Regions from separate parts of the Homo sapiens genome. Here regions 2, 3 and 4 are each linked to region 1. Evidence: promoter capture Hi-C in 16 types of primary human blood cells and fetal thymus (Javierre and others, 2016). All regions are on one chromosome and are shown on one strand. Each heading gives the region's core, a stretch centred on a gene start or on the middle of the fragment in contact. The rest is flanking DNA. Distances are from core to core; before and after follow the strand shown. Region 1 holds the start of C9orf72 (C9orf72-SMCR8 complex subunit). Region 2 overlaps NDUFB6 (NADH:ubiquinone oxidoreductase subunit B6). Region 3 overlaps RIGI (RNA sensor RIG-I). Region 4 holds the start of ACO1 (aconitase 1).

Region 1 (5,070 bases), core at 1,574-4,073:
CCCTGGGGCACTGCCTAGCAGAGCTATGACAAGACAGCCACCGTCCTCCAGACCCCAGAATGGTAGATCCACCAACAACTTGCACCCTGCAGCCTGGAAAAGCTGCAAGCACTCAATGCTAGCCCATGAGAGCAGCTGTGGGAGATGAACCCTGGAAAACCACAGGGGTGGTTCTGCCCAAGGTTTTGGGAGCCCACTCATTGCATCAGTGTTCCCTGGGTGTGAGTCAAAGGAGATTATTTCAGAGCTTTAACATTTAATGACTGCCCGGCTGGCTTTCAGACTTGCAATGGGGCCCTATAGCCTCTTTCTTTTGGCAGATTTCTCCCTTTCGGAATGGCAGTATCTGCCCAATGCCTATACCCCCATTGTATCTTTGAAGCAATTACCTTGTTTTTGATTTTACAGGTTCATAGGTAGAAGGGACTAGCTTCGTCTCAGGTGAGACTTGGGACTTTGGACTTTTGAATGAATGCTGGATCGAGTTAAGACTTTGGGGAACTGTTGGTAAGGCACGACAGTATTTTGCAATATGAGAAGGACATTAGATTTGGGAGGGGCCAGAGTTGGAATAACATGGTTTGGATCTCTGTCCCCACCCAAATCTCATGTTCAACTGTAATCCCCAGTGTTGGAGGTTGGGCCTGGTGGGAGGTGAGTGGATTATGGGGTGGCTTCTAATGGTTTTGTACAGTCCCCTCTTGGTACTATATAGTGAGTTCTGACAAGATCTAGTTGTTTAAACGTATGTAGCACCTCCCATTTCTCTCTTCCCCCAGTTCCTGCCATGTGAAGTCTGGGGTCTCCCTATGCCTTCCATCATGATTTTAAGTTCCCTATGGCCTGCCCAGAAGCTGATCCAGCCATGCTTCTTGTACAGCCTGCAGAACTGTGAGCCATTAAACTTTTCTTTATAAATTACCCAGTTTCAGTTATTTCTTTATAGCAGTGTAAGAATGGACTAACACAATTATTAACGCTAGTCCTCATGTTGTACATTAAATCTCTAGATGTATTAGACGTAACTGCAACTTTGTACCCTACCCTACAATTTTCTTTCCCCCCAAGCCCCCCAACCAAGGGTCTACTCTGTTTCTATAAATTCAGTTGTTTTTTAATTCCACGTATAAGTGAAGTACAACTCAGTGTAGAAACTTGGTAAATGCTAGCTACTTGTTATAAGCTGTCAGTCAAAATAAAAATACAGAGATGAATCTCTAAATTAAGTGATTTATTTGGGAAGAAAGAATTGCAATTAGGGCATACATGTAGATCAGATGGTCTTCGGTATATCCACACAACAAAGAAAAGGGGGAGGTTTTGTTAAAAAAGAGAAATGTTACATAGTGCTCTTTGAGAAAATTCATTGGCACTATTAAGGATCTGAGGAGCTGGTGAGTTTCAACTGGTGAGTGATGGTGGTAGATAAAATTAGAGCTGCAGCAGGTCATTTTAGCAACTATTAGATAAAACTGGTCTCAGGTCACAACGGGCAGTTGCAGCAGCTGGACTTGGAGAGAATTACACTGTGGGAGCAGTGTCATTTGTCCTAAGTGCTTTTCTACCCCCTACCCCCACTATTTTAGTTGGGTATAAAAAGAATGACCCAATTTGTATGATCAACTTTCACAAAGCATAGAACAGTAGGAAAAGGGTCTGTTTCTGCAGAAGGTGTAGACGTTGAGAGCCATTTTGTGTATTTATTCCTCCCTTTCTTCCTCGGTGAATGATTAAAACGTTCTGTGTGATTTTTAGTGATGAAAAAGATTAAATGCTACTCACTGTAGTAAGTGCCATCTCACACTTGCAGATCAAAAGGCACACAGTTTAAAAAACCTTTGTTTTTTTACACATCTGAGTGGTGTAAATGCTACTCATCTGTAGTAAGTGGAATCTATACACCTGCAGACCAAAAGACGCAAGGTTTCAAAAATCTTTGTGTTTTTTACACATCAAACAGAATGGTACGTTTTTCAAAAGTTAAAAAAAAACAACTCATCCACATATTGCAACTAGCAAAAATGACATTCCCCAGTGTGAAAATCATGCTTGAGAGAATTCTTACATGTAAAGGCAAAATTGCGATGACTTTGCAGGGGACCGTGGGATTCCCGCCCGCAGTGCCGGAGCTGTCCCCTACCAGGGTTTGCAGTGGAGTTTTGAATGCACTTAACAGTGTCTTACGGTAAAAACAAAATTTCATCCACCAATTATGTGTTGAGCGCCCACTGCCTACCAAGCACAAACAAAACCATTCAAAACCACGAAATCGTCTTCACTTTCTCCAGATCCAGCAGCCTCCCCTATTAAGGTTCGCACACGCTATTGCGCCAACGCTCCTCCAGAGCGGGTCTTAAGATAAAAGAACAGGACAAGTTGCCCCGCCCCATTTCGCTAGCCTCGTGAGAAAACGTCATCGCACATAGAAAACAGACAGACGTAACCTACGGTGTCCCGCTAGGAAAGAGAGGTGCGTCAAACAGCGACAAGTTCCGCCCACGTAAAAGATGACGCTTGGTGTGTCAGCCGTCCCTGCTGCCCGGTTGCTTCTCTTTTGGGGGCGGGGTCTAGCAAGAGCAGGTGTGGGTTTAGGAGGTGTGTGTTTTTGTTTTTCCCACCCTCTCTCCCCACTACTTGCTCTCACAGTACTCGCTGAGGGTGAACAAGAAAAGACCTGATAAAGATTAACCAGAAGAAAACAAGGAGGGAAACAACCGCAGCCTGTAGCAAGCTCTGGAACTCAGGAGTCGCGCGCTAGGGGCCGGGGCCGGGGCCGGGGCGTGGTCGGGGCGGGCCCGGGGGCGGGCCCGGGGCGGGGCTGCGGTTGCGGTGCCTGCGCCCGCGGCGGCGGAGGCGCAGGCGGTGGCGAGTGGGTGAGTGAGGAGGCGGCATCCTGGCGGGTGGCTGTTTGGGGTTCGGCTGCCGGGAAGAGGCGCGGGTAGAAGCGGGGGCTCTCCTCAGAGCTCGACGCATTTTTACTTTCCCTCTCATTTCTCTGACCGAAGCTGGGTGTCGGGCTTTCGCCTCTAGCGACTGGTGGAATTGCCTGCATCCGGGCCCCGGGCTTCCCGGCGGCGGCGGCGGCGGCGGCGGCGCAGGGACAAGGGATGGGGATCTGGCCTCTTCCTTGCTTTCCCGCCCTCAGTACCCGAGCTGTCTCCTTCCCGGGGACCCGCTGGGAGCGCTGCCGCTGCGGGCTCGAGAAAAGGGAGCCTCGGGTACTGAGAGGCCTCGCCTGGGGGAAGGCCGGAGGGTGGGCGGCGCGCGGCTTCTGCGGACCAAGTCGGGGTTCGCTAGGAACCCGAGACGGTCCCTGCCGGCGAGGAGATCATGCGGGATGAGATGGGGGTGTGGAGACGCCTGCACAATTTCAGCCCAAGCTTCTAGAGAGTGGTGATGACTTGCATATGAGGGCAGCAATGCAAGTCGGTGTGCTCCCCATTCTGTGGGACATGACCTGGTTGCTTCACAGCTCCGAGATGACACAGACTTGCTTAAAGGAAGTGACTATTGTGACTTGGGCATCACTTGACTGATGGTAATCAGTTGTCTAAAGAAGTGCACAGATTACATGTCCGTGTGCTCATTGGGTCTATCTGGCCGCGTTGAACACCACCAGGCTTTGTATTCAGAAACAGGAGGGAGGTCCTGCACTTTCCCAGGAGGGGTGGCCCTTTCAGATGCAATCGAGATTGTTAGGCTCTGGGAGAGTAGTTGCCTGGTTGTGGCAGTTGGTAAATTTCTATTCAAACAGTTGCCATGCACCAGTTGTTCACAACAAGGGTACGTAATCTGTCTGGCATTACTTCTACTTTTGTACAAAGGATCAAAAAAAAAAAAGATACTGTTAAGATATGATTTTTCTCAGACTTTGGGAAACTTTTAACATAATCTGTGAATATCACAGAAACAAGACTATCATATAGGGGATATTAATAACCTGGAGTCAGAATACTTGAAATACGGTGTCATTTGACACGGGCATTGTTGTCACCACCTCTGCCAAGGCCTGCCACTTTAGGAAAACCCTGAATCAGTTGGAAACTGCTACATGCTGATAGTACATCTGAAACAAGAACGAGAGTAATTACCACATTCCAGATTGTTCACTAAGCCAGCATTTACCTGCTCCAGGAAAAAATTACAAGCACCTTATGAAGTTGATAAAATATTTTGTTTGGCTATGTTGGCACTCCACAATTTGCTTTCAGAGAAACAAAGTAAACCAAGGAGGACTTCTGTTTTTCAAGTCTGCCCTCGGGTTCTATTCTACGTTAATTAGATAGTTCCCAGGAGGACTAGGTTAGCCTACCTATTGTCTGAGAAACTTGGAACTGTGAGAAATGGCCAGATAGTGATATGAACTTCACCTTCCAGTCTTCCCTGATGTTGAAGATTGAGAAAGTGTTGTGAACTTTCTGGTACTGTAAACAGTTCACTGTCCTTGAAGTGGTCCTGGGCAGCTCCTGTTGTGGAAAGTGGACGGTTTAGGATCCTGCTTCTCTTTGGGCTGGGAGAAAATAAACAGCATGGTTACAAGTATTGAGAGCCAGGTTGGAGAAGGTGGCTTACACCTGTAATGCCAGAGCTTTGGGAGGCGGAGGCAAGAGGATCACTTGAAGCCAGGAGTTCAAGCTCAACCTGGGCAACGTAGACCCTGTCTCTACAAAAAATTAAAAACTTAGCCGGGCGTGGTGATGTGCACCTGTAGTCCTAGCTACTTGGGAGGCTGAGGCAGGAGGGTCATTTGAGCCCAAGAGTTTGAAGTTACCGAGAGCTATGATCCTGCCAGTGCATTCCAGCCTGGATGACAAAACGAGACCCTGTCTCTAAAAAACAAGAAGTGAGGGCTTTATGATTGTAGAATTTTCACTACAATAGCAGTGGACCAACCACCTTTCTAAATACCAATCAGGGAAGAGATGGTTGATTTTTTAACAGACGTTTAAAGAAAAAGCAAAACCTCAAACTTAGCACTCTACTAACAGTTTTAGCAGATGTTAATTAATGTAATCATGTCTGCATGTATGGGATTATTTCCAGAAAGTGTATTGGGAAACCTCTCATGAA
Region 2 (5,070 bases), core at 1,322-3,821, 5.0 Mb before region 1:
AAAGTTCACAGTCATTTATGACTGCAAAATCTCTAGCCTTGGAAATTACAAGTAGGGTATTGGAAGGGAGGGCTTTCTGATGATGGGATAGAAGTGAATATTTTAGACTGGGTGTGGTGGCTCATGCTTGTAATCCTGGCACTTTGGGAGGCTGAGGCGGGTGGATTGCTTGAGCTCAGAGGTTCGAGACCAGCCTGGGCAACATGGTGAAACCCCATCTCTACTAAAATACAAAAAAATTAGCTGGGCTTGGTGGCATGTGCCTGTAATCCCAGCTACTCAGAAGGCTGAGGCAGAAGAATTGCTGGAAACCAGGAGGCAGAAGTTGCAGTGAGTCGAGATTGGGCCACCGCACTCTCCAGCCTGAGCGATATAACGAGACTCTGTCTCAAAAAAAAAAAAAGAAAATAGTGAATTTTTTAGGAGCGTGTGCTGCCATGGCAGTTTTGGAGATGTCCAAGTGGACATGGCCTGTCTTATGTGTTAGAAACATGAGATTGTTAGTTCTAAGAGGAATTAGAGTTGGGTTAGGGGATTTTCACATTACAAACCAACACAAACTCTCTCTACAACTATTAAAAAGGGCTAACAATTTGTATATCTAAGGGTGAGAGAATAGTTTGTATTTCTGTTGTTGATGGGCTTTAAAAAAGTTTATGTTCATAAAAAGGCTACTTCATTTCATTATACATCTGTTATGTTTTCACTATTTTGGCATGTAAGACCCTAGAGAAGAAAATATATTACTTTCTGTCAGTGAAAGTTTAACATCCAAGAGTGATTTTTATGTGCAGAAAGAACTGGTTACAGTGACTTAAAATCCAGATTAATGTATGGTTCTTGAGTTTCAAATATAAAAACATATTTTTTTCCTAATTCTTTAAATTCAGTTTTAAAATTCTATTAAACTATGCATCTAGTAAAATAAGAATAATCTCCTTTGTTTTTACTATCTTTGGATTAATTGAAGTTGAACTCTTCTGAAACAATTCCATTTACAAACATAGCTAAATTCTGTTAAATATTTTAAATTGTATTTATACATTTTGTGTGTTCAATTTTATTTCGAAGTATTTATATGGTAAATTTATGATTCTAAGAAGTAATTTTTTTCAACCTAGAATCACAAATCAATTATGCATTTTAACTAGAATCCTAAACCTAATTTTTTAAAACCTCTGTTAGCCAGATTATCTTACACATTACAAACTCTGATCAACAGAATGTATGGAATGTAGCAATGTTTTCAGAACTTTTAAAAGTTGACACATTCACTTATTTATACTCTGGGTTTAACTTACTTTATCATATCTAAATTTAACTACATTTTTCTGGGATCGAAAAGACATTTCTAAGAGAAGCAAATTTAACAAACTGCAGTCACTAGGTTGACAATTTAATACAGTAATGTGGTTGCTTATCTGAGGGTTCACACTTCCAGGTGATTTTTCCTGAGCCATAGATGGACATATTTAGTTAAACATTTTGTGTCAGTAGAGGTCCCAGAGCCACTCACTTACCTTACTTTTTCTCTTGATTTTGGTAGGTAAAGGATTGCATCTTCAATAAGATTGCAACCAGTTTGCTTCAGCTCACTCCTTTGCTGCCTAATTGAATTCTGCATCTCTCAGATGACTTTTCAGTGTCTTTTTGCCTTTTAGCACGTAAAGACATTTTAAAGTGCTCACATTGTATTCTGAGTTTCTCTCATGTTCCAGTTCTCTATGCCTCATATCATGCCAATAATCTTTTAAATTTTGGGCAGTGGTATCTTGTGCAGATGTATATGCATAAAAAGTACATGTATTCAACAATTACTTATGTAGTACCTCTTATGTGCAAGGCATTGTTTTAAAGACCAGGATACAGCAGTGAACAGAGCAGATTGAGTCCCTCCCCTCATGAAATGTTTAGTTTTAGAGACTGGTAATAAATATATAAACAAAGAGGTATATTAATGTTATAGGAGAACAAGTCTATAGAAGAAAAATTAAGCAGGGTAAAAACTAGAGAATGATAAGGCTTGCTATTTTAATTAGGCCTCTCTGAGGAAGTGATCTTTGAAGACAAACATAAATGAAATGAAGATACAGGTCAAGCAGTATTTAGGAGAAGAGCATTTCAGGTAGAGGAATCATGAAGTACAGAGGCCTTGAGGCACAAGCAGGCTTGACTGAATTGGACTCCTAGGAATGGAGCCACTGTGGCTGTAGTAGAGTAAGTGAGGGAGAAAAGACTGGCTTTTTCTCTAAGAATTATGAAACTTTGAGCAGAGTGACATATCTTAAAAGAATCAGTGTACTCTGCCTTGAAGTGTGGAGAATAGACTTTTCATTTGCATAGGAGGGCACAAGTGGAAGCAGGGAGGCTAGTAGGTGCTGTTGTGGTAGTTGAGGTGAAAATATGATAGAGGCTTGGACAAGGCTGGTGATGAGAACCAGTTGGATTCAGGGTATATTCTTAAGATAGAATTAACAGGCTCTGCTGAGGAGTCAAGGTTTCTGTCTTTCATAACTGGGGGAATAAGAGTGTCATTTACTGAGATGGGGGACATGGGGAGGAACAGTTTGGGGATGGGAGAAGTTAAGTGTGGGACCTGGTTAAGTTTGAGATGCCTGTTTGATAGCTAAGTAGAGATGTTGAGTAAACAGTTGGATATGTGAATCTGGAGTTCTGTGAAAGTTTGGAGCTTAAGTTAAAATTTGGGGTATGACCTATTTCTTATTTTCAGAAGAAACTCTTAACACCATAATTAACACAGAGTTAACTTTTATTACAGGAAAAACCATATGGCATAGTTGAAAAGAAGTCCAGAATATTCCCTGTAAGTCTTAACACTTCTGATTTTTCTTTTGTTTATTGTTTTTCTCTTTCCTTTTCCTCCCTTTCCAAGCAATTATTAGATTAAAATGTTCTTTCCTTCTCACTTTCGGTTTAAGTCCCTGTTTTGTGTATTCTTGTAAAAAACAAAACAAAACAAAAAAAAACAGGAAGAAATACCGTGAGGTAACAATTACAGTTCAAATGGGAAGTGAGCACATTTATTTTCAACCTGGCTGTAAAACGTGTTTTGTGACCTTGATTTTCCTAAAGGGAGTTGAAAGTACCAAAAGTTTTTCACTGTGTCCTGTTTCATGTTGGGTAAAGAGCTTAGGGCATGAGCCTAAGCAAACATCCATGCATGGTGACAGCAACTGAATTTCTGTTATTAATTCCAAACTCTCATGTCCTATGGCTTTGTACCTCATTTTCAAGATTTGACCTTAAGTTCTCCATCTGTGAATTTAATATCCACTAATGGGTGTTTTAAATTTTATACTATGGGCCAGGCACAGTGGCTCATGCCTGTAATCCCAGCACTTTGGGAGGCCAAGATGGGTGGATCGTGAGGTCAGGAGATCGAGACCATTCTGGCTAACACGGTGAAACCCCGTCTCTACTGAAAATACAAAAAATTAGCTGGGCGTGGTGGCGGGCGCCTGTAGTCCCAGCTACTCGAGAGGCTGAGGCAGGAGAATGGCGTGAACCTGGGAGGTGGAGCTTGCAGTGAGCCGAGGTTGCGCCACTGCACTCCAGCCTGGGTGACAGAGCGAGACTCCGTCTCAAAAAAAAAAAATGTATACTATGAATGTGTGAGCTATAGTACTAATTTGAAATGAGTTATTTTAGCATTAAAAGGTGACTCAGTAGTCAGTTGGTATTTACTAGCTGTTTGTGAGGTTATTGTTTAGCATAGTAGAATACATACTATGTTCTTGTCTATTTCTAGTCACAGATAATGAACTATCATAACTCAAAAGTACACAATTTAAATAACAAAAGTGTGATTCTTGCTTTAATCAAATGACTTAGTCACAGTAATGATTATCTGTTGCAACAGGGGAATTTTAGGAAGGGCCACCAAAACTGGCCAGCGGTCCCAGTTGGAACGCTGGTTTAAGAAATAGTTGGGGGAGGGGCCAGGCGCGGTGGCTCACGCGTGTAATCCCAGCACTTTGGGAGGCCAAGGTGGGTGGATCACAAGGTCAGAACTTCGAGACCAGCCTGGCCAACATGGTGAAACCCCGTCTCTACTAAAAATACAAAAATTACCGTGCGTGGTGGCGGGCACCTGTAATCCCAGCTACTGAGGATGCTGAGGCAGGAAAATTGCTTGAAACTGGAAGGCGGAGGTTGCAGTGAGCTGAGATCGTGGCACTGCACTCCAGCCTCAGAAATGAGTGAAACTCCATCTCAAAAAAAAAGGAAAAAGGAAAAAAAAAAGTAGGGGGTATCGGGGGCTCATGCCTGTAATTACAGCACTATGGGAAGCCGAGGTGGGTGGATCCCTTGAGGCTAGGGGTTCGAGACCAGCCTGGCCAACATGGTGAAACACCATCTGTACTAAAAAAAAAATACAAAAATTAGCCAGGTGTGGTGGTGCACGCCTGTAATCCCAGCTACCTGGAGGCTGAGGCACAAGAATTGCTTGAACCTGGAAGGCAGAAGTTGCAGTGTGCGGAGTTTGCGCCACTGCACTCCAGCCTGGGTCACAGAGTGAGACTCTGTCTCGGGAAAAAAAAAAAAAAAAAGTGGGGGCCAGGCGCGGTGGCTAACACCTGTAATGCCAGCACTTTGGGAGGCAGAGGCAGGTGGATCACCTGAGGTCAGGATTTTGAGACCAGCCTGGCCAACATGGTGAAACTCCATCTCTACTATTAATAAAAATACAAAAATTAGCTGGGCATGGTGGTGCACGCCTGTAATCCTAGCTACCGGGGAGGCTGAGGCACAAGAATTGCCTGAACCTGGGAGGCAGAGGTTGCAGTGAGCCAAGATTGCGCCACTGCACTCCAGCCTTAGCGACAGAGCACCCTGCCTCAAAAAAAAAAAAAAAAAAAAAAAAAAGTAGGGGATTTCTCCTTTTGTTTTATTGTGTAACATTGATGTGTGTTACAGCCTAGGTAGTCTCAAAATAGGAAATTATCTTGCTGGTTTTTCCAGCTGGGCAATTTATATTTATTTAGTCTTCCATTTATTCCATTTAAATGTTAATTTATTTTGCCATTTACTGTTCAAAGGAAAAGGAGA
Region 3 (5,070 bases), core at 1,681-4,180, 4.9 Mb before region 1:
AGCCTGGGTGACATCGTGAGACTCTTGTCTCCAAAAAAAAAAAAAAAAAAAAAAAAAAAACCGAAAAACAAAAAAAAGTCGATGAGAGGGGGCCTGGGAATCCTAAAAGTCTCCAAGTGCCAGTCTTTCCTGATGTTATTGCAGTTTTTGGAAATGGCGTTAAGACCGGCAACTAACTTGAATGCTAATTGCTCTACAAAACTAAAAGAAAGGTTGTGGAATGGCATTCTAGTGACCAGTGTAGCTTGGCACCTGAAGAAGTACTTGGAAGAAACACTAACAACTGGTGTGAATTCCATTTTTTCATGCACTCATATATTGATTTGATACACTTTGATGGAATAAAATAAGCAACTCGTGTCAGTATTATGTTAGCATTGGAGGTAATTTACTCAGCACCTATTACCTAATAGTGTCATTGAAAGTTGAGGAAGCAATGATGAGCACAGTAGAAACTGTCCCTGCCCTAATAGTGATTAGTGTGTCTATGTGAATGCAGGTAACAAAATAGTAAATAATAAAGTGCAGCAGTGCTTTGATGGAAAAAAGCTGGGATGTCTACTAGAGTCCAAAGGGCACAGCCAAAGCTTCCCAGATATTTGGCATTTGAACTGAGGTCTAAAGAAAGAGGAAAAATTAGCTGGAAGGAGACAATAAATTGCAGTTAGAGGGCTCCTTATGTGCAAAGGTCCAAGGTGAAAGAGAAACTAGAGTGTTCCAGGTATCCAGAAAATATTAGTATGGTGGCATTGTGGAGAGAGAGGCAGGAGTTCAGAGAGATGAAACTTGACAGGCAAGCAGAAGTGGGATATGAACAGTTTTGGACTTTATCCACTGAAATGTGATAAGGAGAGGGGACCAAAATAGAATTTGCATTGTAGAAAAACGACTTTGACTTCAGTTTGAGGAATGGCTTGAATAGGTACAAGACAGGGAGAGAGAGAATGGCAGATGCAATGATGCCAGGACAGCAGAGTGGAAAAACTGGAAGCAAGGATACCAGTTAGGAAAATAGGAATCCGGAGGAATGGGGAGAAATGGATGGATTCAAGACACATTTGGAAAGTATAATCAATAGGTCTCTTGGGGAGTTGTGGTGAGGAGGTAAGGGTGAGGACAGGGTGGAAATGACTTCCAGGTCTCTGGCTTTGGTCCTTGGGTGAATAAATGGTAGTTTCTGAGATAGGAAATGTGGGAAGAGGGACAGGTTTGCAGGAGGAGGAGAAAAATTCGGATTTAGGTATGCTGGGTTTGTATGCCTTGGATACATCCATGAAGAGATGTTCATCAGATTGTTGGCTGCACAGGTGTGGAGTTCAGGAAAAGGGTCCACAGTTGGGGAGACATTAATGTGGAGATCCTTGCTGAAACAATGAGAGTGGGTGCAATTGTTACTGAAACACCAGGGATTCAGCCTAGGTTCTTTTGCTGGCTGCACATAAAGCCAATCACTGAGACAACAAGTTTTGCCAAGGCTTTAATTGGGAGCTGCAGCAAAGGAGGTAGGAGATCAGTCTCAAATCCATCTCCCTGACCCGTTGAAATTAGGGGTATGGATAGAAGGAAAGAAATATAACTAGGTGTTGGAAAATGGACTCTGGAGGGGTAAGGAAGCAATCATGATAAATGAGGGGCCTGGTGTCTCATTGTCTGGATGTGATGGTCTGATGAGTTTCAGTTCTTTTATACCTTTTGAGAGGCCTGGGGGTCCTTTTCCTGGGGAAGGAACTCAGATAAAACAAATATAAGTTTCAGCTTTAAGATCAGGAGGGTCAATTTCCATGTTTATTCGAAAGAATTGTATATGGGACTATTGTGTTGGTTTCAGTCCCCCTCTTTCTATTTATCAATTCCTGGATCATGGGGAATCTGATCCTCAATCTTTCTGGCAGCTTCATGCTGAGGAATGGCGTGGTGGGCAGTTCCATACTATGGGTGACCACGTGGCCATCCAGGAATCAAAAGTTAATCTAATACTATAGTTTTCTTCTGAGACACAATCTGTATCATTACTGTTCCCCGCTTCCACCAAAGACATATCACAGCTGGATGGGCCTACCTGCAAAATAAGCCTCAGTTACATATACTTGGCTTATTTACCCACACAAAGTGCAGCAAAAATTATTGTCCATATGGGCTCTCCTAATTGGCTTTGCTGGAACCTCTCACAAGGCCATTTCAGTCAAAGCCCTGGGAAAATAACTTGTTCCTCCAACTGTGTCCCCTTATAAAAGAAAACAGATTTTTATTAAATGTATGCAAGAAAACACATTGCCATGAACTAAGAATATTCACAAATAGTTTATAAATTCTGGAGAAATTAGGGAGAGAGAAAATGCCTCAAATTCTGTTTAAAAGGGTATACTCTACTTAATATACTGTATTCTTAAAGGTTATGAAGAGCTTAAAAGAAAAAATTCTCCAGATTCCAAAAAACAAAAATTCTCCAGACTTTTTCAAACAAAACCATAAAAAATTATTTCAGTCCCACATTAGTTCAGTCCATGCAATCAACTCCTGCTGTGTTTCATATTGGGTTAGTAATCTTTATAAACATGTCAGCCTTTTAATTAAGAGGGACTCTAATTAAGAGTCCTAGAAGTTTTCTGTATTCCAGTGGCACAGTCTCCAAAGTTATCAGAAATCTGCATTCAAGACTCCTTTTCATGAAGTCCCCTAAATAAACAAGCTCTGGACTATATCTGATTATAAGTCACTTTTTGAAAAGAATCAATGCAAAACAACAATTGCAATGACAAAAGTCTTAGGAGAGCCATAAAGACACAGTTGACAAGGAAATTTTTTTTTCTGTTGGCATACAACAATTTAACATAATAATCATCATTACTGACACCATATATTAAGACATATCAGAATTTTAGGAATCTCATATAGTCCTGCAACACATATTAATAGCACATCTATACAAATATAACCCAAAGGAAGTTAAATACCACCTCACATTTGATAATGCTGCCTGTATAATTCTAATATACCAAAGAAGCCTAACATGTCTGTCTGTATTGGAATTCAAGGAAGCTAATACACAAAAAAGTTAGTTTGAGGTTAAAAAAAACCCCCTGAATTTAGAACTTGAAATATTTGCTGTTGGGAAGTCTGTCAGTATCAAAGATTTAAGACACTTGATATCACAAAATAGGATCACAGGTCGCTACAAAATAGTTATTCATTTAGCCAAAAAGATAAAACAAACACATTTACCCTTTGATAGGCGACTCAGTTTCCCAACAATAAGGCCTAATAAAGACAGCATGAGGCCAACTAAATGTCTCTCCCTCTTCCTTTTCTTCCCCCCACAGTTCACTCAAAAGGTAAACAAATATTTTATGTCAATATTATACAAACATTTTATTCAAAAGAGAACATCAAATTTTACCTTTGTATGGTATATTTTTAATGTTAAAGCTAATTTTAATAAAACCTTATAAGCCGAATTTTAATCAGTTTGACTATAAGATAGGATTTCTGTGAAGTTTTTTTTTTTTTTTTTTTTTTTGAGATGGTGTCTGGCTCTGTTGCCCAGGCTACAGTGGTGCGATCTTGGCTCACTGCAACCTCTGCCTCCTGGGTTCAAGCAATTCTCCTGCCTCAACCTCCCTAGTAGCTGGGATTACAGGCCATGCCACCACACTTGGCTAATTTTTGTATTTTTAGTAGAGACGGGGTTTCACCATGTTGGCCAGGCTGGTCTCCAACTCGTGGCCTCAGCTGATCCGCCTGCCTCGGCCTCCCAAAGTGCTGGGATTACAGGCGTGAGCCACCACACCCGGCCTGAGTCACCAGCCCCGGCCTGAGCCACCACGCCCAGCCTGAGCCACCACACCCAGCCATCTTTTTATAACGTTTTACGATTTCCTATTAAAGAGTAGAGTAATGCTCCAAGAAAACCCTGTTATGACACAGGGGCCCAGACATTGGCCTTGCATCAGTGTGCTTTTGATGTTAATGTTTAATTTATAGAAAAACCCTGAACTAATTTTATAACTCAAAATCAGCCCTTACAAGCTCACGTGCTCACCTTTTGTGCAATAGTTCCTGGGCGTAGAGGGATTGAATGGTTTTAATTTCTAGCCCTATGTCTCATGAAAGCAGTTCATTTTGATTGTCACCTTCTCCTGAGTCTGAAGACGAGGCTTCATTTGGTGTCAGTGCTCAAGATTTAGCAGGTATTGGTGTCTTTTTTGGATCCAGGAGTCAAAGGCCTTTGAATTACTAAATAATTGTTTCCTAAGAATTATTTAATAGCATATTTATACTGCAGGAAACCTCATCATTCTCTCTAATATGTCACAAAATAAAACCCTGGGATTTGGTGCCTAGTAGTTACTGTCTGAAACACTTCAACCCATTATACAATCCATTGTATTAAAGTGGTTAGGTTACTCCTTGCATTTATCTGCTAGCATTCTAGTGACAAAACTGTGACCTAGAGCCTCAAAAATGTGGTAAGTCCTGTGCCAAACTTACCAAAGTAAGATAGTTAACTTTTCTTTCCATCATTAAAAAAAAAAATGGTAAATGCAAGTATCAGTTTTGGAAATTCAATATGAAGATAAATCTTTCATTTAAAAAGTATACAACAAAACAAGGACAAAGTGACAATAAGCACACAGTAATTTCTTTTCAGCTATTTTGAAAGAGCCTCATCATACATTTCCAAGATTGGTTTCTAGATAAAGTACTGACAACTGATTTAAGTGACTTACACCACTAGAATCTTCAAACTGGCATAACACTTGTATGTACATATTTTGTTTTCAAGTATACATGTGAAGGCCCATCAGTGATAAATGGCTTAGGATAAAAAAAACACTAGAAAGTCTTATAATTTTTTTTATGACTTAATCCAAGTAAATGTTATTTAATCTTAATAATAGTAAACACAACTAAATTAGTTTGAGAGAAAGCCCAATCAATATAATTTCCTTAAAGACAAAGCCAATTTTTTTCTGAATATTAAGACTTTGTACCCATATAGCAGTTTTGCCTCATTAAAGGAAAAGATCTGAAACCGCTATTGTTTATTGAATTGAATTACCTTGGAAATAA
Region 4 (5,070 bases), core at 1,717-4,216, 4.8 Mb before region 1:
ATCAAAAATTTTAGAGGACTTGAATCATACACCCTATATCTAGGATCTTTGTCTAGGCTAAAGAGTCTGTTTTCTACTAAAAAAACAAACCAAAAGCACCTTGGCTCAGACAATAGCAGTGTCAGCTGGCAAAGGTTTAACAACTTGAACTCCAAGAGGAAAAAAAAGCTCTGATGTAGCATTTGCCAATTTCCATGGTGTTATTATTCCCACCATGGCTTATTTCAATCTAAAAAATGTGTTGCCACTGAACACGGAGTTAGGAAGAGATATGCACAAATGCTAGTATAAACCAGCTCTGAAACCACTGGCTCCTTGGGACACTTACTATCAATGGCCTAACTCCTCATTTTAAAGTCAAAGACACTGAGACCCAGAGAAAGTGTCTTAACCCGAGGCTGGCCCAGTGACTGGCACCAGGTTGGAGGTAATTTCCCTGTGAATCTGGCTGCCTCACAGGAAATTACTTCCTATGTAGAAGGAAGAGTGGGGGAAAGAAGGCAAAGGAAGTTCTTTGCCAGGCACGTGGTGATACACGTTGGTTTTTATCATCATCTTCACAGTGTGGGACTGGTTTCTTCAGCACATGCCTTTGAAGCACACTTTAGGTAGGGGGTACTGCTCTTCACACAGGACCAGCTTTCATGTACACACTCTGACTATATAATAGACTATCTCAATTAACCAGCAGTTATCAAAGCTATCAGACCATAATTGCCAGAAAGACAGGGACTGCATCTTTTGTGCTCACTACTTTCCTGGCATCCCGCACATAACTGGACACATGAGAAATAGGTGGCCAATAAAAATCTACTGAAAGAATGAAGGAATGAGACCCCACCATCAAAGTGGAATTTTTTAATACAAAGAACACAGCAGGTGCTCAGAGTTTAGATCCCATTTCCTTCTCCTGTGGACTTCTCCTCCTCCTCACCTGTGGACTGTGCAACACACACAACACGCTCATGTGCATGCAACATTTCTCAAGTATCGGCTGTAGCATTTAAACTGATCCATCAGAGCACAAGAGGCTCTATGGATGAAGGAACAAAAGGGAGGATGGAGTTAGAAAATTTCTTCCTCCCAAATATATACACATAACATCTGTCTTGAACTTGTTCTGACAAGGCACGAAGCTAAGGAAAGAGTCCCGTGAAGGACCTCACCTACCACACTCCAGGATGGTGGAAACTGCTTTTTGACAGGGGCTGAGGAAGCACCACTCAGAGTGACACCCTCTGAAAGTGGAAAGTGAAAGAACGTCAAGACTGGAAATCATTATTCCAATAAACTCAAGGCTAATAACCATGCAACTGCAAACAGAAATGAACACGTGCAAGGGAAGGCAAAAGCATGCCTCCTTGTTCTTTTGGAAATAACTTCCTGACTACTTGGTAACTCTCACAGGAACCCCTACACACTTGGCATGGTCTCCCCACTGGCACTTTTGTGAGCCTACAGGTCCTGTTTGCCACATCACTGTTGTAATCCTGATGCACAGACAGGTCAGCTCTGCAAGCACAGAGACAACCAAAGGCATGTGCGAAGCCTTGCTGACTTTTCAGGAGGCTGGCAAGGTTCATCACAGCCTCACGTGGGGACCTAGTACATGGTTTCCAAAGTGAGATCAAACTTGGTTCCAGATACCAGAGGTTAATACTGTCCATGGCATGAGGTGGTGTGTGTTCCCAATCAGAGGAAGGATCACAAACAAGAAGCAGGCCCAATGAATGAAGCCTCTGAAGCATTTCCTACACCAGCATCCTCAAAGTGTGGTGCAGAGAACTCCTAGGGATCTCCAAAGTCAAAACCATTTTCCTAGTAATAAAATGTTACTTGCTTTTTTTCATTCACACATTTTCAGGAGTATACAGTGGAGGTCTCAAGAGGCTACATGATATGTGATATTGCAACAGACTGCAGAAGCAGCTATCAGAATCCAGCTGTCTTCAATTACGCTTGACATCAAAGAGATTTGCAAAAATGTAAAACAATGCCACTCTTCTCAATCATTTTCTGTTTTGGGAAATATAGTTCTTTTTCATAAAAATAGGCAATGTTAAGATATAATTAGTTCACTATTCTTTTTAAATGAATTATTATAGTACAAATTTCTCAGTCTTACTTACATATTATAAATATGGATAGATATAACACACATAAAAGCTCCTTAAGATACTAATTTTTAAGAGTGTAAAGGAGTACTGAGTACCAGAAAAGTTTGGGGACTTCTGTCCTAGAGGTTGTCCCCCAGGGAAGAGAGTTACATGTGTTGCAAGAAGGAAGATGCCATTATGATGTGCTAGCTGAATCTAGAAAAAAATGACTTGGTCATAACTGCAGCCCAAGCTCCTTTCTAGATCTCTGAATCTATCATGGTGGGCTCTGTGTTCAAGCCTCCCACGAAGGGTCTCTTCCCCCTCATCCCATTTTCCCTTTACCCCTTGGAGTGGATTCCCGGATCTGCCCGCACAACTTTAGCAAGGGTTTCCCTATCCAGCCAGCCGGGCCTGGGCGAGGACTCCCAGTGCGGGCCTCACACCCTCGGGGTTAGGACTCCCAGGACTGGCCGCACACCCTAGGCAAGGACTTTCAGGACAGCACGCACAGCCAAGGCTAAGAAGGGTCTAGGAAAGCCACTTCCAATCCCTGGTTTCTCTCCCCGGCATGACATAGACTGGGGACAGGGTGGAGACGTCAGTCGCCAGAAACACGTCCCCGATTCTCCTCTCAGCCTCCCCAAGCTCGCCTCCGTGTCCCCCGTGCCGCCACTGCCTCGGGCACCTCGGTAAAGGCCCGCACCGACTCTCGAGGGATACAGGGTGGACGGCGCTCCCGCCTGGGGACGTGGGTCGGGCCGCGTCGGTACTCACCTCCGACTGCACGGCGGGGCTCCCGCGACCGGCGAACCTGACCCAAGCAGCGGGACGCGTTCCCGTGCGCTGCGCGGTTCCAGCTGCCGCCTCCACGCTCCGCCCCCTCTCGCCCCCGGGGCCGCCGCGCGATGGGCGGAGCAGGGGCGGGAAGGGCGGAGCAGGGGCGGGACGGACGGGCAGCTAGCCGAAGAAGGGGCGGAGCCTGCGGGCGCCCCCGCGGGCCTGGAGGACTTCGCCCCGGGCTGGAGGCTAGGGTTGCGAAGGGCTCCTCCGCTGGAAGTGGGAGGGCTGATCCCTCGGCCCGGGTCCGCTTCTGCCAGCATGGGACCTGGGACGAGGGTGTCTGTTGCTCACTTTGGAGCTTAGCATGTGACTCCCCAGCCGGCGTTAGGAAGTGACCAAAGGGTGGGGAAGAAATGGAATTATTTTTAAAAAATGATTTGGCCATAACTGGAGAGGCTTCATGTACGTGTGGTCACTTGGCCCGCCTCCCTTCTCACTTTGTCCGTCCCCACCCTACCCACCCTCTCCACCCTCGCCTTAATTCTTTGCGCAAAGCCTGCCAAGTGGACATCGGAGTCACGCTGTCAGAATAGGACTTCAGCATTTCCGTGGCAAAAGTTCTATATGTAGATTTCCTTGGACATGTAACAACACTTTCTAATGCACGATGTTCACCGGTCTGAAGTCGGAGAAATGGCTGGGAGATGGCAGCAAGTGGGCTTTCACAAGATCTGCTTTTCATGTTGGTAGGAGTTGTGCCCTCTTGGGTGAATGGCGTTCAAAGAAGTGATTAGATCTTTCTAGATGAAAGGTGGTGAGGTTTTCCTGCCCAAATTATTTGGAAAGTTACTGTAGTTTTCTGAATAAGCAGCTTATAGGATGAGTAAACAATAGCCAGTACTAATAGCCCCCCTGCTACTTTATACTGCCCTCCTATTCTGCACAAAGCCCTGTGATCGACTCTTTCCACGTTATTCAGTTCAGCTCTTCCAACCACCTTACAAGTAAAGAATATTACCCGTCTTTGCAGGTGTGCAATGCGCAACAGCTGAGACTCAGTCCTTAGGTTGGTTTGACACCAAAGCCTACACCTTCCCTGTCATACTGCACTATAGGGTACAACTATCGTCTAGTTATATTTAACTTTGAAATATAAATACTTATATTTATTTTGAAAGGGGAAGTAACTGTATTTCCAATATGAGAGGAGACTGTTTTCCCACCCACTTCCTAAATCCTTTCCATTCACATTAGTAATTAAATTTTCTTTGAATGTCCACCATATGGCAGAGGTGCACCACAATCCCTGAAAAATCATGCTCCAGTCCCCTTGGGAGGTAGGGAGAGTAGGGGCAAGGTGAGAGTGAGTAGAAGGCTGGGGAAGTCCGATGAGGACACATCCAGCTAAATTGCGATTCTTAATGAGGCAGCCATTCGGAAAGCAAAGTATCTAATGTTCAATGATAACATCCGTGTAACTGAGAATCCTTCGCAGAAAACAATCAAATCAGAGCTATGAAGGGAATTGAGATTTATTAGTAAGCACGCTGGTCAAAACCGTGAAGGAAATAGTTCCACATCCCCCCAGTCTGTTGCTCTTGGACGTTGTCACCAGTGACGTGCAGATCGTGAATCCCAGGGCCTGTCCTCTGTTCCTGTCCTTACTCACTACTCTGTGGTATTTGACACTGGCGATTCGTTTTCCTAGAAATGTTAACCTCCTTTTGGCTTTTCAGCCCTCCGCTCTTAGGAGTCACCTCTTCCCTCTTTTGTCCCTCTTTTTTAAGGTCTTTCCCTACACTCTCTCCTCTTGCTTTATATGTTTCTCCATTTGCTGAGTTTTTCTTCATCTATTTTCTCAGTATGCAGACTGCCTGCCACTTCTAGCTGAAGCCTGCTATGTCTCTGTCATTGGTCTTAGTTAACTTTCTGACCTTCACACTCTTGATTTGCAGCCATATGTGGCAACCCCACCTGGATATTCCAAAGGTGTCTGTATTAGACCGTTCTCACGCTGCTGTAAAGAACCCTGAGACTGGGTAATTCATAGGGAAGGAGGTTTAATTGGCTCACAGTTCTGCATGCTGGGGAGGCTTCAGGAAGCTTACAATTATGGCAGAAGGGGAAGCAGGTATGTCTTACCTGGCAGCAGGCAAGAGAGTGTCCTCTGAATGCACAGTGGTCCTCCTGA

The links. Contacts are between HindIII fragments. The CHiCAGO score rates a contact against its expected background, and 5 or more counts as called.
Region 2: a fragment that was not itself captured here is called in contact with the fragment with the promoter of C9orf72 in region 1 in 7 of 17 cell types (naive CD4 T cells, activated CD4 T cells, naive CD8 T cells and 4 more); the score reaches 21.0 in naive CD4 T cells.
Region 3: a contact is called between a fragment that was not itself captured here and the fragment with the promoter of C9orf72 in region 1, in 2 of 17 cell types (naive CD4 T cells and activated CD4 T cells). The highest score is 8.2, in naive CD4 T cells.
Region 4: the fragment with the promoter of ACO1 here is called in contact with the fragment with the promoter of C9orf72 in region 1 in 5 of 17 cell types (non-activated CD4 T cells, total CD4 T cells, activated CD4 T cells and 2 more); the score reaches 14.3 in non-activated CD4 T cells.

Annotation. Positions count from the first base shown.
Region 1 is chr9:27,571,234-27,576,303 of GRCh38, reverse strand. C9orf72 (C9orf72-SMCR8 complex subunit) reads left to right here and starts at 2,823. Exons shown (of 11, transcript NM_018325.5): 1 at 2,823-2,873. RefSeq lists enhancers at 2,214-2,741, 3,340-3,429 and a silencer at 2,750-2,829. The HindIII fragment of the contact is 3,790 bases long and covers 1-3,382 here.
Region 2 is chr9:32,556,664-32,561,733 of GRCh38, reverse strand. NDUFB6 (NADH:ubiquinone oxidoreductase subunit B6) reads left to right here. Exons shown (of 4, transcript NM_002493.5): 3 at 2,780-2,824. It also overlaps a transcript of SMIM27 not described here. Among named protein-coding and RNA genes, the nearest start is that of TOPORS, 6.6 kb to the right of the region's middle. The HindIII fragment of the contact is 5,670 bases long and covers 1-5,070 here.
Region 3 is chr9:32,519,587-32,524,656 of GRCh38, reverse strand. The region is part of intron 1 of RIGI (RNA sensor RIG-I); the gene reads left to right. Among named protein-coding and RNA genes, the nearest start is that of RIGI, 4.1 kb to the left of the region's middle. The HindIII fragment of the contact is 4,681 bases long and covers 590-5,070 here.
Region 4 is chr9:32,382,539-32,387,608 of GRCh38, reverse strand. It overlaps ACO1 (aconitase 1), which reads right to left and starts at 2,966. Exons shown (of 21, transcript NM_002197.3): 1 at 2,874-2,966. RefSeq lists a silencer at 2,786-3,165. The HindIII fragment of the contact is 14,350 bases long and covers 1-4,984 here.